Linked DNA regions of Homo sapiens: region 1 is linked to region 2. Evidence: promoter capture Hi-C in 16 types of primary human blood cells and fetal thymus (Javierre and others, 2016). All regions are on one chromosome and are shown on one strand. Each heading gives the region's core, a stretch centred on a gene start or on the middle of the fragment in contact. The rest is flanking DNA. Distances are from core to core; before and after follow the strand shown.

The links. Contacts are between HindIII fragments. The CHiCAGO score rates a contact against its expected background, and 5 or more counts as called.
Region 1: a fragment that was not itself captured here is called in contact with the fragment with the promoter of AMER3 in region 2 in 1 of 17 cell types (activated CD4 T cells); the score reaches 5.7 in activated CD4 T cells.

Annotation. Positions count from the first base shown.
Region 1 is chr2:131,019,270-131,022,331 of GRCh38, reverse strand. The region is part of intron 4 of ARHGEF4 (Rho guanine nucleotide exchange factor 4); the gene reads right to left. Among named protein-coding and RNA genes, the nearest start is that of SMIM39, 14 kb to the left of the region's middle. The HindIII fragment of the contact is 3,953 bases long and covers 1-3,062 here.
Region 2 is chr2:130,753,759-130,757,186 of GRCh38, reverse strand. AMER3 (APC membrane recruitment protein 3) reads right to left here and starts at 1,647. Exons shown (of 2, transcript NM_152698.3): 1 at 1,513-1,647. It overlaps LOC124907890 (a long non-coding RNA gene), which reads left to right and starts at 1,305. Exons shown (of 2, transcript XR_007087239.1): 1 at 1,305-1,504. RefSeq lists enhancers at 1-493, 1,372-1,871. The HindIII fragment of the contact is 12,260 bases long and covers 1-3,428 here.

The DNA.
Region 1 (3,062 bases), core at 419-2,918, 270 kb before region 2:
GGAAATTGAAGAGTAATAAAAAAAACTTCCAATAAAGAAAAGCCCAGGGCCAGATGGCTTCTACCATCTGGTAGTGAATTCTACCAAATATTTAAAGTATAATCAACACCAATTCTTCTCAAATTCTTCCAAAAATATTGAAGAGGAAGGAATACTTCCCAACTCATTCTATAACATCACTATTGCTTTGATAATAAACCCAGACAAAGAAACTACAAGAAGACTACAGACTAATATCCCTTATGAATATAGATGCAAAAATCCTCAACAAAATACTAGGAAATGGAATTCAGCAGCATATTGAAAGGATTATATATCAGGACCAAATGGAATTTATTTCTGGAATACAAGGAGGGGTCAACATAGGAGAGCAAATCAATATAATACACTAAATTAACAGAATGAAGGAAAAATACATGATTATCTCAATCTATGCAGAAAAAGCATTGACCAAGTTTTTACGATAAAACATTCAATAAACTAGAAATAGAAGGAAAAGTCCTCAATGTGATAAAGGCCACATATGAAAATCTCACAGCCAACATCATACTCAGCGATGGAAGACGGAAAGCTGTATCACTAAGATGAGGAACGAGACAAGGATGCCTGCTTTCTCCACTTCTATTCAACATAGTACTGTAAGTCCTGGTGAGACCAGTCAAGAAAAAGAAATAAAGAAGCTCTTTAGTTTAATTAGATCCCATTTGTCAATTTTGGCTTTTGTTGCCATTGCTTTTGGTGTTTTAGTCATGAAGTCCTTGCCCATGCCTATGTCCTGAATGGTAATGCCTAGGTTTTCTTCTAGGGTTTTTATGGTTTTAAGTCTAACATTTAAGTCTTTAATCCATCTTGAATTAATTTTTGTATAAGGTGTAAGGAAGGGATCCAGTTTCAGCTTTCTACATATGGCTAGCCAGTTTTCCCAGCACCATTTATTAAATGGGGAATCCTTTCCCCATTTCTTGTTTTTGTCAGGTTTGTCAAAGATCAGATAGTTGTAGATATGGGGCATTATTTCTGAGGGCTCTGTTCTGTTCCATTGGTCTATATCTCTGTTTTGGTACCAATACCATGCTGTTTTGGTTACTGTAGCCTTGTAGTATAGTTTGAAGTCAGGTAGCATGATGCCTCCTGCTTTGTTCTTTTGGCTTAGGATTCTGCACAGCAAAAGAAACTACCATCAGAGTGAACAGGCAACCTACAGAATGGGAGAACATTTTTGCAACCTACTTATCTGACAAAGGGCTAATATCCAGAATCTACAATGAACTCAAACAAATTTACAAGAAAAAAAACAACCCCATCAAAAAGTGGGCAGAGGATATGAACAGACACTTCTCAAACGAAGACATTTATGCAGCCAAAAGACACATGAAAAAATGCTCATCATCACTGGCCATCAGAGAAATGCAAATCAAAACAATGAGATACCATCTCACACCAGTTAGAATGGCGATCATTAAAAAGTCAGGAAACAACAGGTGCTGGAGAGGATGTGGAGAAATAGGAACACTTTTACACTGTTGGTGGGACTGTAAACTAGTTTAACCATTGTGGAAGTCAGTGTGGCGATTCCTCAGGGATCTAGAACTAGAAATACCATTTGACCCAGCCATCCCATTACTGGGTATATACTCAAAGGATTATAAAACATGCTGCTATAAAGACACATGCACAGGTAAGTTTATTGCAGCACTATTCACAATAGCAAAGACTTGGAACCAACCCAAATGTCCAACAACGACAGACTGGATTAAGAAAATGTGGCACATATACACCATGAAATACTATGCATCCATAAAAAAGGATGAGTTCATGTCCTTTGTAAAGGGACATGGATGAAGCTGGAAACCATCATTCTCAGCAAACTATCGCAAGGACAAAAAACCGAACACCGCATATTCTCACTCATAGGTGGGAATTGAACAATGAGAACACATGGACACAGGAAGGGGAACATCACACACTGGGGCCTGTTGTGGGGTGGGGGGAGGGGGGAGGGATAGCATTAGGAGATATACCTAATGTTAAATGAAGAGTTAATGGGTGCAGCACACCAACATGGCACATGTATACATATGTAACAAACCTGCACATTGTGCACATGTACCCTAAAACTTAAAGTATAATAAATAAAATAAAATAAAGAAAAAGAATAAAGGACATCCACATTGAAAAGGAAAAATAAAATTATCTGTTTGCAGATGACATCTTCTTACATGTAGCATACCTTAAAGAATCCACAATAAAATTATTAAAGCTACTAAAATTCAGCAAGGCTACAGAATATAAATTAACACACAAAAATCAGTTTTATTTCTGTATATTTGCAATGAGTAATCTGAAAAGGAAACTTTTGAAAATTTCATTACAATAGCATTAAAAAGAATAAAATACTGGCCAGGCATGGTGGCTCACGCCTGTAATCCCAGCACTTTGGGAGGCCGAGGCGGGCGGATCACGAGGTCAGGAAATCGAGACCATCCTGGCTAACACAGTGAAACCCCGTCTTTACTAAAAATACAAAAAAATTAGCCGGCCGTGGTGGCAGGCGCCTGTAGTCCCAGCTATTCAGGAGGCTGAGGCAGGAGAATGGCATGAACCCGGGAGGCGGAGCTTGCAGTGAGCCGAGATCGCGCCACTGCACTCCAGCCTGGGCGACAGAGCGAGACTCCATCTCAAAAAAACAAAAACAAAAACAAAAACCAAAGAATAAAATACTTAGGAATAAACTTAACCAAGGAGGCCAAAGATGTGTAGAATAAAAGCTACAAAACATTGCTGGAAAAAAAAAAAAGCAAAGAAAGACGTCCCATGTTCATAAATTGAAAGTCTTAATATATTTAAGATGACAATACCACCTAAAGCAATCTGTGTATTCAATGCATTCCTATAAAAATCCAATGACTTTTTTTTTTTGAGACAGAGTTTCACTCTTGTTGCCCAGGCTGCAGTGCAATGGCACGATCTCAGCTCACGGCAACCTCCGCCTCCCGGGTTCAAGCGATTCTCATGCCTCAGCCTCCCAGGTAGCTGGGATTACAGGCATGTGACACCACACC
Region 2 (3,428 bases), core at 398-2,897:
CTTTGAGAAGGTAATTCCGTGGCTTTTTTTTTCCTTTCTTAACCTGAAAGTGTCCCGGTGTTTGATTTCATGGAGCAAAATAAAAACCCTGGAGGAATACACATGCCACAGAAACGCCTTGAGACAAAAAAACGTTTGGCTAATAGTTTTGGTATTTTCTATGCCTTCCCCGGTATGCAGGAAAGTCACAGCAGTGTGATACAAAGGAGTGTATGGTGATAAAAAAGCGCAGGCCCAGGGACCTCTGGAAACTGGGCTGGCGGTAGAGCTATGGGGCAATAGCGTTCTCAGTAGTAGGCTGCCTTGTCATGGGAGGGCTGGAGTGAGGGCCACTGTGCGGAGGGAAAGCGACCGTGCTCTGGGGTGGGGGTGGGAATGGGGAATAAAACAGAAATAGAATCTGCGGTGAGAGCACCACCAAGCCACCCAACCCCCACACTGGGGAGACAAAGGGCCCTCTGGGGAGGGAAGGTCCTGGCCCACCTCCTTGGAGGGCGCCTCTGGGCGGTCCTGGCCTGCCCAGGGGCAAGGAGATGGGCCTCACAGCGATATTGGCTCTCCCTCAGCTCCTGCATCCGCCGGCGGAGGGTTTCTCCGCTTCCCTAGCCCAGACCTAAAAGGGTCACCGCTCCCAGGCCCCTGACTGCGCCGGGAACCGCTGGGTGGAGGGTGTCGACCCTGCTTCCTGCCCTCAGCCCGTCCATCGCGCCAGAGAATGCACCAAATTCCCCAATCCTTGCCCTCCCCGGGGGTCCACATCCGCGGGGCAGGACCAACGCAGCCTCTCGGGGCCTTGGCGACTTACCGCTGGGGGCCCGCAGTGCAGCAGGGCGCGGCCGCGACAGGCTCGGGCACCGCGTCGGAGCGCGAGCCGCGCTCAGCACCACGGTCAGCTCCCGGCGCCGCGCGCCGCGGCCGGGAGGGGGAGGCCCGGCGCCCGCACCCACCCACCGCGGCTCCAGGGGCCCCGCGGGGTCGGGCAGGCGAGGGTTAAGCCGCCAGAGGCCAGCGGGAGGGGCGGGCCGGCGCTGGCGCGCAGGGGTGGCGAGGGGGCGCGCCGGCCGCGGTGGGGGCTGCTCCGCCAGGCTGCCGCCTCCCTGCGCCGCCGCTCGGGCCGCGCTCGAGCCGGCTTTGTCTGTTCGTATCGCCCCGTCTCTGTTTCTGGGTGTCTCTGCCTCCCACCCGGTTGCGGCTGCGCCTCCCTCAGGTGCAGTCGTCTCCCCTCGCCCCCGTGCGCACGGCGCCCCCGCCGCTGTCCCCTCTTCCGGGAGCGCACAGGTGTGGGAGCCCCTCCCCCTCAGCCCAGAGAGCCAGCCCAGCCCTGCCGACCGCAGCACTCTCGGAAGGGCTCGGCCACCCGGAGCCTCGTCACGAGTCTTACCCAGGGTTCGGAGCGGGCCTGCAAGAAGGGGCAGGCCAGGCTGGGGCTGCAAGGCAGGGTCTTCCCTTGGAGAAGGGACCTGACTCTATTATTAAGAGAACGAAAGAGGCACTTGCCCTACAGGTACTCACTGTGTGGGGTCTACTGGTGCTGTGCTCTGCCGCAGTCTTGAGGGAGGAGCAGAAATGCTGTGGGGACTCTGTCTCCGCAGAACTGAGGACGAGGGGTCTGCACGCGTGGTTCAGTGCCTGGGGCTGGGGTGGATTAAGTAACTCCAGGAAGGCTCAGGCAGCAGTGCCAGTAGTGTGGGGCGGGGTTGTGGGGAGGAGGGGGGAGCGGGAGCGCACAGTCGGTGCTGGGGAGAGGCTGATGCCAACAGGAGGCTCTCGGCCGTGGTGTGCCCAGGCGGGGCAGGACGGGAGGATGCAGGAGTCCCGGGTCCACGCTGAGGCTAAGGCTGAAGGGAAGGCAGAGCTCAGGTGGATGACGGAGGCCAGGCCTTTCCCTGAGCTTGGTGGGCTCCCTCCCGGTCACCTTGTCTGAGAACCCAGGACACAGAGTCCCCTTGCTTTGGACTGGTTTGGTTTGTCATTCCCCTTGACATCGCCTCGCCCCAGAGACAAGAGGCCCCTTCATCCTCCAGCCAAGACCTTCCCCACCCTTGGGTGACCTACCCTCTTGCATTTTTTAGATTTGAGCCCTCTTTCTATGCAGCGACTAACTCAACGTGACCCCAGAGGCCCCCTCGCCCATGTTGCTGGTAGTCTTGACCTTTTTTGGCAGATCCTGGCTGTGGGAGTTCCCTGTCTTTCTCTTAGGTAGGACAGAAGGCAGTTTCTGCCTCGTTGCCACATACACCCCAAGTCAGGGGTAGGACTCCCGCAGACCCCACAGTCCTCCTCTTGTTAAAATTAGTAAGCATTAGCCTTCCTTATTAGGCTCTCCCCGCTTTTGCATTTAAGGATTTTTTAATGTGTCTTATAAAATCATGTAATTGTGAGGATAATTACAGATTCAGCTTCTTCCAGTGAGTGACAATTGCTCATTTTCGATGCTCACATGGTCATCGTTCGGCCACTGCAAACTGTTCCAACCCTTCTACTTTGTCATTTCAGACAGTTTTCAAACACCCCTAACTTTTGGGTAACATGAAAATATATATTTCAAATTTTTTATTTCCCCAAGATGTGGGATCAGGTCTTCCCCAGGGACTCCTGGAAAAATCTTTTACACTAGGCTACCCAGTTCAGATACCACTGAATGATTTTTCTTAAATATTATTCTAATGTGAACTTACATTTTATTTTTACAATACACTGACTTACACGCCTGTAATCCCAGCACTTTGGGAGGTCCAGACGGGCGGATCACAAGGTCAGGAGATCAAGACCATCCTGGCTAACATGGCAAAACCCCCTCTCTACTAAAAGTACAAAAAAAATTAGCCAGGCATGGTGGTGGGCGCCTGTAGTCCCAGCTACTCAGGAGGCTGAGGCAGGAGAATGGCGTGAACCCAGGAGGTGGAGCTTGCAGTGAGCCGAGATTGTGCCACTGCACTCCAGCCTGGGTGACAGAGCGAGACTCTGTCTCAAAAAAAAAAAAAAAACAAACAAAAAAACACACACAAAACACTGACTTAGATTTCTCATCTGTGTTTTTGAGCAGTGGCTGTAAACCTTTTCTTTCCTGGAACTAGCTTTCTGGTCACTTGGTTGTCCCCAGGGTCTCAGACCTTCTGGCCACACCACCCCTTGCTTTCTTGGCAGGCCAAAGAGTTGACTGTGGGCACAAATGAGTCGGCCATCCACTGTGCCAGTCACGTCAGCTGCATTTGTGGGGTACCATCAGACCTACTGCTTTGAGCTGTTTCTTTTTCTTTTAAAATTTTCAATATTTAAAAACTTTTTTATTTCATATTTCCAAACAGTGAACAGTTGGTTTCTTTTTCTTAAAAAAATTTTTATCTTATTTTTTGAGATGGAGTTTCACTCTTCTTGCCCAGGCTGGAGTTCAATGGTGTGATCTTGGCTCACTGCAACCTCCACCT